2 separate regions of the Homo sapiens genome follow, and region 2 is linked to region 1. Evidence: promoter capture Hi-C in 16 types of primary human blood cells and fetal thymus (Javierre and others, 2016). All regions are on one chromosome and are shown on one strand. The core of a region is centred on a gene start or on the middle of the fragment in contact, and the rest is flanking DNA. Distances in the headings are between cores, read along the strand shown.

Region 1 (4,912 bases), core at 1,819-4,318:
GTGCAGCAGTCTGGAGAGGGCAGGATGTGGCCGTTGAGAGTGTGGACAGAGTGACAGAGCAGCAGTTCCCAAACCCGAGTGTGCATCAGAATCACTAAGGGCTTGGTGGGCACAGAACACACCCTGAGTTTCGGAATAGACATAGAAAGGGTTTGCCTTCCTAACAAGTTCCCAGGTGCTGCTGGGGCTGCTGGCCGAGGTCCTTGCTTGGAGAATGACTGGTTAAAGAAGCCACAGCTGTCCCACCCTGCAGCTCCAAGGGGACCGCTTTGCATGGCTGCCACCATGCCCCTCCAAGAGGAGGTAGCATGCTGGTCCCAAGGGGCATGATGGTATCACTTTCACCAACAGAACTTAGCAGTCCCTGAGCAGAACCTGGAACCAGAAAGGGGGACAGGAGAAGCTCTGCCACTTGGGTAAGATGCAAGAACAGAACAAAGAGGATTCAGGTGCTGGCAGGAATGGCTGTTGGACTGAGCTGAGGGCTCCTGGCCCAGAGTCACTCTCCTCACTCCCAGTGCGGACTCTCATTTCCCTGTCACTTGTCCACACCCTGTGTCTTTCCAGTTCCCACCCAAATCTCCTGTCTTGCATGGAGCCTGGGCTGCACCACGACCGCATTCACCCTGCTGTCCTTCCCTGAGTCCACAAAACTCAGTATGCGACATGGACCTCCCGCAGCCTCCTGGCTCCCCTTGGATTATTGACTGGCTATACTGTACTCCATCAAATATAAGATGCTATCACTTGTGAAAGACATTACTTAATCACTGCCAATTATAATTGTAAAAGATATCTTGATTCTCAAGATGTTAAAATGTGAAGAAATGTGTTTCTTAGAATCCATGGAATATGGATTCTTGAGCATCTGAACAGGTGATCTGCAGAGCATGGTGCCCCCCAAGACCCATTCAGGGGGGTCTCCAAGGTCAAAACTATTTTTTGCAACAATATAAGTCATTATTTGCCCTTTTCACTCTCATTCTCTCATTAGCGTGCAGTGGGGTTTTCCAGAGACTACATGTGTGATGACATCGCTTTGATGCCCAATGGAATATATGTATTCTTGTGTCTTAAAACTTTCTGAGTTTTAGTTTCTAATATGGTAAATGTTGATAGACATAAGCCACCTAAACAAAAGCTCTTGGGGTCCTGAAACCAAAAAATTTAGGAATCACTGCACTAGGTTGTACGCCCAGCACTTGGCCGGCATTGAGTCCATGGTCAAGCGTAAGGAGAGGCCCGAGGGGGATGTGCACAGTGCTGAAGGTGCACAGGAAAGGGACTTATCCCAGCCGGTCTGGGAAGGCCTTCCAGGGGAAGTGGGGTGCTCGCCTGCCAATCTCAGGCATGTGGATGCTTCACCCAGGTGGCCCTGTCTTGCTGACCAGAGATTTGTGCCAAACCAGCTCTGCGACCCTGGGTTTAGTCATGCTACCTTCTATCACTATTAACATGAGGCTAATGTGTAGGTCACAGAGGCTGTGATGAAAATTAAATAATTGAATGCACGTGAAAGAATGCCACTCATAGAAGGTTTCACATGACCACATCCTTGGTGGCTGGGTTGTGTCTTGGGCATCTCTGTTTTCTGCCACAGAGCTTAACACAATGCTTGGCACACAGGGGTGCTTGGAAAACACTGAGTGAAGGAATGCATGTTGGGGGTGTGGCCTAAGCAAGACGTGGAGCTTGCCTTCTCCAGACACCAGGTTTCCCATGGGATCTGGAGCAGGTGATGAGCGGTAGTCCATAACACCTTCCTCTCTGGCTCTGTGCCAAACCAGATTCCTCCTCGTCTCCTCCAAACCATCTGTCTTCTTCCACCTCCCCATTCCCTCCCCCCAGTTCCCCAGGCTGGTGGCCTTAGCATCAGTTAGACTTTCTTCTTTCCCCACCTGTCTGTCCTCAAGGTTGCTAGGTTCATCCAAGATCTGAGCCAAGAGGTCCGGGTCTGGGACGTGGGCGCTAAGGGCCCAAGGCAGCTGCAAAAGACCTGAAAGGTGAGAAGAGAGATCAGTGGAGGACCCCGGACTGTCCTCAAGAAGCGGACGGACTCCCCTGCCCTCCACTGGCAGCCCAACAGCAGAACCAAAGCGGACCACTCAGCACAACCTGTGTGTGTTGCTGGGCGCTGTCCCTGGCCCAGTCTGGACCAGGAGCAAAGAGGAAAGATTCAGGGCGTTAGTGCCAAGAGCAGCCATCCCAGCAACAGAAGCCCCTGCTTCCCCAGTACCCGTGATACTTGGGAGGAGCAGAGTCTTGAGTGGAACCCGAGCCTCTGACACCCGCCCTGGGGGTCTTCCCTCCACTCTCGCCAGGGTCCTCCTGGATGAGTGAGACAAGGGCAGTTCAGGAGGTCACCCAATAACTGAGGTCGCAGCAACACGAAGGAGCCAGGGAGCAGGGGCGGCCTTCCCTTCTCCACTCCAGGCGGCTCCAGCGTGCACCCCAGGACCCCCCAGGAAGGTTTTGCAGGAATAAAGAATGAAGGCAGAAGCAAGATGGAGGATGAAGGAGGCGTGGATGGCTTCAGAAGGCAAGACGGAGGCAGCAGTTTGGCGCCTGTCTCAAAGCCTCCTCCCCGCGCCAAGGACAGGTCGGAGGAGGGGGGCGTGGGGACAGGTAGAGCGGAGGCTCCAGCGTTTCTAAAGGGGAAGACCTGAAGTGGGGCAGGAGAGACGGGTGAGTTGTCTGGAAGCTGCATTTGCCTGGCAAACACTGGGTTAACAAAGACTTGCGTTGCGGGGATGCTGGCCTTGGACAGGGAATGCGAAGGGATTATGCTACGGAGAACGGATCCGAGCGTGACGGCTGAATGAATGAGTGAGCGAGTGAGTGAGTGAGTGAGTGAGCGAGCGAGTGAGTGACTGTGCGAGCGAGCGGCAGAAGGAACTCCGACCCGCCCCAGGTGCGGAGCGGCGCGCCCGGCAGGGGTCACTGCGGGCCCCGCGGGCGGGAAGGGGGCGCAGGCGCGGCGGGCGCCGGGGCCCTCCCGCGGGGACGGGGCGGGGAGGGCTGGGGGTGGGGTTAGAGAGAGGGACGCGAGCGGGATCCAAACTTCCGGTGCCTGCAGAGCTCGGAGCGGCGGAGGCAGAGACCGAGGCTGCACCGGCAGAGGCTGCGGGGCGGACGCGCGGGCCGGCGCAGCCATGGTGAAGATTAGCTTCCAGCCCGCCGTGGCTGGCATCAAGGGCGACAAGGCTGACAAGGCGTCGGCGTCGGCCCCTGCGCCGGCCTCGGCCACCGAGATCCTGCTGACGCCGGCTAGGGTGAGAGGGTCTGGGGCTCAGGCGGTGGGGCGGGGGACCCAGGCTCACGACCCAGGCGCGCCCCGTCGGCCCTGGGGACTGCCCGAGGCGCGTCAGGGCCCCAGAGCCCGGGGTGGAGCAGGGTTGGGAAGTCTCGAATGGTTGCTTATCCCAGAATGAGGAGGGGGCTTAAGTCCCGTACTAAAGCGGCAGCCAAAAGCTGAAGTCCGAAGAGTGGGAGGCGTCTGGTTCTGGTCTTCAGGTGGAGAAGTGCTCGAGGTCTCTTCCAAAAGTGGGGGCCCCCTCGCCGCCTTATAGGGGGAGGGGGCTGGTCCGAAGAAGTTCGAGGAATGTTGGTGGGGGGGTACGCGTCTGGTTCCAATCAACTGGGAAAGCCGCGAGTCGAGTCCCCAGGTGGGGGATGGGAGGAGGGTTAGACGTAGTTTTTCCAAAGTAGGGCGGTGGGACCTGATTGGCTGGGGAATTGGGGGTGGGGGGGTCTGGTACCAACGAAGAGGGTGGGGCCGTTGATTTCCTCCGAAATTGGGGGCTGCGAGGGACAGAGGATGTGCTGCTGGCCTGCACCGGAATTGACAGACCAGAAAGTGATGAAATGGAAATCAGCCAGAACCGACGGCGCTGCGGCCTCTGGACGTCGGGGGTCCGAGGCCGGGTGCCCCCTTCCCACCCCACGCCCTGCCGTCTGGGCCTCCCTGCTCCCCTCTCTTTTCTCCATTCCCAGCCTCTCGCTGGGCTGTCCCCCGACCCCACGGGGAGGGCTCCCAACTGCCCCAGTGCCCTTGCATCCTGGGTCCCCGGGCTCTGTGCGCGTTCCCCCACCCCTGTCATCCCCCTCCCCTACCCCGGCTTCCTCCACTTTCCCTCTGGCCGGGGGGGAGAGAAGGCATTTCCGCCGTGGAAAACTGTCTGAGCTGCGTGCCTTGTGTCCGGGAAGGGCCCGCAGGGGGCAGAACGCGTGGCGGGCAGGGACAGGGAGGGAGGGAGAGCTGGCCCAGCCAGGTTTTATTGTGCCTGGCAAAGGTGTCTACGTGGGCGCCGCCCCCAGCGGTCTTGTGGCTTACCAAGCCCATGTCCTCCCCGCCTCCCCACCCCGCATTGAGGCAGGACTGAGAAAGTCTTTGTCCACTGCTTCCCCACTTCCAGATGCAGGCTTCTGAAGAGTCTTCCTGAACGCCTAGCCCCCTCCCCAGGTTTTGTGGCTCAGGTTCAGTCTTGCCTGGGGCATTAAGGGGCCTGCAGAGGATGACCTGGACCCTGGAGGAGGGGGCGCCGGAGAGGGCCGTCAGAGTTGGGTGTCAGCCTGGGCAGAGACCCTGAGTGAGGAATGCCAGGAGACTGAGAACCCCCTGCCCTTTTATGGTGGTCACTGCAGCAACCAGTGGCTCAGAGCCACAAGAGTTCAACAACCACCTAGGCGAGGTTGGGGGTTGCTGTGCACCCCATGAGAGCAGCTCCCCCCTTTTCATCTGAAGCTTAGGTGGAGGGGGCGCTCCATATTTGAAGAAGATGGTTCTGCAGCTTTAAAAGTTTGCAAGGGGTTCTTCAAGACTCCTTTTCTTTGGAAGGGAAGCTGCCCTCCACTCAGCCTGGGGAGGGGCAGGGATGGGGGCAGGAGGCAGCACGCTTGCCCATCTCTTTTC
Region 2 (4,910 bases), core at 2,139-4,638, 120 kb after region 1:
ATAAATGGTTAAAGTGGCAAATTTTATGCTATATAAATTGTGCCTTAATTTTTGAAAAGTTTACACTTTGAGTGAGGCAAGTGTTTGGCACAGAAACCACTTCTCTCCTGGCAACACTTCATAATCCTCCAGTGGCAAAGCCCCTCTCCGCAAACCCATCTCTCAAGCCACGCACGTCCCAAGAGACACAAGAACACTAGAGGCCAGACAGGAGGGGACAGCCTGCATTGTGTCCTTCACCCTTATTTGGACCTTCGCCCTATTGCCTTCTCACACTCTCAGAATCCAGAGGTCATGCCAGTTCAAAAGGAGCCGGTATCATGGAGACTGGGGCTCAGAAACCAATACCCCCAAATATGGCTCTGTGACATGCTGAACTGAAGAAGAAGCCACAAGATTTCTCTGACCTCCCCCAACCCCCGCCTCTGTCTCAGTCTGTCTCTCTCAAAGCACAGAATGAGGTTGTTCTCTGAAGTTCCCTTATCTGCCTAAAGCCCAGACTCACTAAAGAAGAAAACAATTACTCCTGGTCCCTTCCTAAATTTTCATGAACTGAACTCATATCCAGGAAGAAAGACTGACATCTATCAACACAGCTAGGCAGACTTTTGTCACAAACCGTTGTATACTCTGCAGGCACAACAGACTTTGTCCCAGGCCATTGTATGTTCTTCAAGCCCATTGAATTTCTCTAAAAATCACTTAAACTAAAATCATCCACACTGCCCCATCTCCCTTTCCCCTAAGAAGAAGGGTATATAAGCATATGTACCCCGCTGGGTTATCGAATAATCACTCTGCTACAGTTCCCCATGCTTGACACGTTAAAATAAATTCATAGTGTTTTATCTAATTAACCTGCCTTTTGTGAGTTGATTTTTGTGCAAACTTTCTGAGAGCGAAGGGGAAGTTTTCACGGGTATTGCATGGTCTTCTGAAATAACTAGCATTAATATAGATTAGACAAAAACCAACCCTGAACAGGTTCCATGTGACAGCAGAATGTTCTGAAATGGGAAGGAATGAATGTGAGCATGAGAGGTCTGTGTGAACGGATAATGAGGTTCGGGGTAAGATGCAAAGGAGGATATATATTATACCATCTTTCATATGGAAAGAAGAGAAAATGAATACGTGTATGTGTTATTTTTGTGAAAAGAAATACAGTATTAAACAGACACTAATGGAAGGCATTCACCGTGGAGGTGGGAAGGAATGGGGTAGAAGGGATAGGAACGGCAGTGAGGCTTCTCTTGTATATCTCATATCATTGTCACTTTTTATTTTTTTATTTTTTCAGAGACGGGGTCTCGCTCTCTCACCAAGGTTGGAGTGCAGTGGCTCACTGGAGCCTCAGCCTCCTGGGCTCAAGCAATCCTCCTGCTTCAGCCTCCCAGTGGCACACGCCACCGTACCCAGCTATTTATTTATTTATTTATTCATTTATTTATTTATTTATTTATTTTTGTAGAAATGAGGTCTTCCTACGTTGCCCAGGCTGGTCTCAAACTCCTGGGCTCAAGCAATTCTCCCACCTCGGCCTCCCAAAGTGCTGGGATTACAGGTGTGAGCCACTATTCTCAACCCATTTTTACTTTTTAACTACATAAATGTTTCACGTATTTTAAAAATAAAATTAAATGTTAAAAAGGTGGGATAAAGAATACCCTACAATAGAATGCAAAAGAAGGAAATCAAACTGATAACGCCTCAAACTGATACCACAACCACACAGAGCAAACACTCTGATTGTGGAGAAGGATCTGTTCTAAGAACAGAAGAACTATAGAAAAACTTCTATTTAGTATGTTTACTGTTAGCAGTAATATTGGTCTTGTAATTCTGAAACTCTTTTGTGCATGTATAGTGGAAAGCAAATAAGCAAATATATATTTTACTGACGGGGAAAAAAGATACTAGTAGTCAGTAAAGAAGTGAAAGAAAAACTGTAATGTTAAATTTGAGTAGGAAATATATCAGTTTGAACTTGTAATTTTTTTTAAAATGAGTTTTCTAATCCTGTCCACTGAATGACAGCCGAGTAGCAATGATCGCATATATCACCAGGTTCTTTCTTTCTCTATACCATTCACCACTAAAGGCACCAGGGCTCGTTAGAGAAATGGTAGATTCTAGGTCAGGGGTGAAAATGTACAACGTGAGCATGGAATCTCTTGTCACACCAGAAAGCAAAACAGTTTTGGAAGATAAATGTGATCATGTCAAAAGGATTCAGGAGCTGACCTGAGGGCTCCCACTGCTCAAATGTGGGATGATTTGAACATCAAAATGAATAACTGTAGTTTCAATTATAGCATTTTTAAAACTCCACGAACCCACAGTGATTAATGTTTTTAATATAGTGGGATTTGGAAATTCTTACAGAAAAAAAGGCCAGCTAGTAAATGTAGCAGGAATAAAAGAATGAAAAACTACCATTTTCCAACCTCCAATGTAATGCTTCCTTCAGGTAAGCATCACCAAGAGTTGCCAAAACTGTTTGGTGACTTGGATATTCAGTTAATCCTGTGACCATGTGAAGATTCTAAAAATTACTTACAAAAGGGGAAGCAGAGTGAGGATTAGTGATCAAACTCAGAATGACCAAGAGTGGCTGACATTATGTACTCCAGATGTGATGCCTGACATTATTTACTCCAGATGTGATACCTGACATTATTTACTCCAGATGTGATACTGACATTATGTACTCCAGATGTGATACCTGACATTATTTACTCCAGATGTGATACCTGACATTACTTACTGCAGAAGTGATACTGACATTATTTACTCCAGATGTGATGCCTGACATTATTAACTCCAGATGTGATGCCTGACATTATTTACTCCAGTTGCGATACTGACATTATTTACTCCCGATGTGATACCTGATGTTATTTACTCCAGATGTGATACTGATGTTTTTTACTGCAGATGTGATACCTGACATTATTTACTCCAGATGTGATACTGACATTATTTACTCCAGATGTGATGCCTGACATTATTTACTCCAGATGTGATAACTGACATTATTTACTGCAGATGTGATACTGACATTATTTATTCCAGATGTAATGCCTGACATTATTTACTCCAGGTGTGATACTGACATTATTTACTGCAGATGTGATACCTGACATTATTTACTCCAGATGTGATATTGACATTATTTACTCCAGATGTGATACTGACATTATTTACTCCAGATGTGATACCTGACATTATTTACTCCAGATGTGATGCCTGACATTATTTACTCCAGATGTGATACTGACATTATTTACTCCAGATGTGATACTGACATTATTTACTCCAGATGTGATACTGACATTATTTACTCCAGATGTGATACCTGACATTATTTACTCCAGATGTGATAACTGACATTATTTACTCCAGATGTGATAACTGACATTATTTACTCCAGATGTGATAACTGACATTATTTACTCCAGATGTGATATTGACATTATTTACTCCAGATGTGATGCCTGACATTATTTACTCCAGATGTGATGCCTGACATTATTTACTCCAGATGTGATGCCTGACATTATTTACTCCAGATGTGATAACTGACATTATTTACTCCAGATATGATACTGACATTATTTACTCCAGATGTGATACTGACATTATTTACTCCAGATGTGATACTGACATTATTTACTCCAGTTGTGATGCCTGACATTATTTACTCCAGATGTGATATTGACATTATTTACTCCAGATGTGATACTTGACTGAGAAGTCTACAGTGGCACCTATGCAGTACAGAACTCTGGCCAAAGATATTCAACCTGCATCTAATCTTGTGTAAGCAATCAGATTAACCCACATATGGGACACTCTACAAGACAACTGTCCTGGACTCTTTATCAAAAACTAATTTCACATAAACAAAGAACAACAACAACAATAAAAAGGTGAAAGACTGTTTCAGATGAAAAGAGACTGAAGAGCCATAACAACCAAATATCATACATGATCTTGATTGGATCCTGGATAGGAAAAAAAAATCCAGCATTAAAAGCTCTTCCGGGGACAACTGTAGAGATTTGAATACAGATAGTACACTGGGTGCTATTATGGTTGTGATCATGGTATTGTGGTTTTGTGGGAGAATATCCTTATTAGGAGATGCTGAGATATCTAGAAGTGAAGTGTCAAGATGTCAGCAACTTGCTTTCAAATTGCTCAGCAAAATAAAAGTATGTGGAAATATACAAAGACAGAGAGAGACCAACAGAGACAAAGCAATTGTGGCAAAATGTTAACAGTTGGAGAATCCAGGGTAAGTTCATTGTACTCTTCTTTGAACTTTTCAGAATGTTTGAAAATTTCAAAATAAAATGTGAGGGGGAGGGGAGGGAGTTGCAGGGTGGATAGAGAAGGTTGGGATAGAGCTAGCTGCCAGACCCAAACCATCTGCCACCAACACAGGGAGTTTAAAATGGCCCTCTAAATTACAATAGACTCATCTTCGTTTTGAAATCTTCCTAGGACGGGTGCAGAGGCTCATGTCTGTAATCCCAGCTACTCAGGAGTCTGAGGCACAAGAATCACTTGAACCTGGGAGGCGGAGGTTGGAGTGAGCCTCGATCATGCCACTGCACTCCAGCTGGGGTGACAGAGCAAGACTCTGTCTCAAAAAAAAAAAAAAAAAAAGAAAAAGAAAAACAGAAATCTTCCTAAAAGGAAGAGAAAGCTATACTACACTTTCCTCGAACCTCAAAGCCCCCACTGCTTATAGAAACTTTGAACCCAGTACCCACTGGAAAATAATGAATGGGAAACACACCTGGTAAACACAGTCCAGGTAGAGAGGAAGAGCCTCCCGATGCCCCCAGCCCTGGGTAGGAATCACCAAACCCTACCCCCCAGTTACCAGGCCTGTGAAGCCT

Evidence for each region. The method cuts DNA at HindIII sites, captures the fragments that hold promoters and counts their contacts. A CHiCAGO score of 5 or more calls a contact.
Region 2: a contact is called between a fragment that was not itself captured here and the fragment with the promoter of ITM2C in region 1, in 4 of 17 cell types (naive CD8 T cells, naive CD4 T cells, activated CD4 T cells and 1 more). The highest score is 8.4, in naive CD8 T cells.

What each region holds. Positions count from the first base shown.
Region 1 is chr2:230,861,874-230,866,785 of GRCh38, forward strand. It overlaps ITM2C (integral membrane protein 2C), which reads left to right and starts at 3,069. Exons shown (of 6, transcript NM_030926.6): 1 at 3,069-3,272. The coding sequence starts at 3,153. RefSeq lists enhancers at 17-627, 1,753-2,411, 3,070-3,728, 3,729-4,385 and silencers at 2,819-3,188, 3,289-3,378, 4,169-4,268. The HindIII fragment of the contact is 7,451 bases long and covers 1-4,742 here.
Region 2 is chr2:230,976,556-230,981,465 of GRCh38, forward strand. No RefSeq gene overlaps it. Among named protein-coding and RNA genes, the nearest start is that of SPATA3-AS1, 17 kb to the right of the region's middle. RefSeq lists an enhancer at 514-563. The HindIII fragment of the contact is 9,305 bases long and covers 1-4,910 here.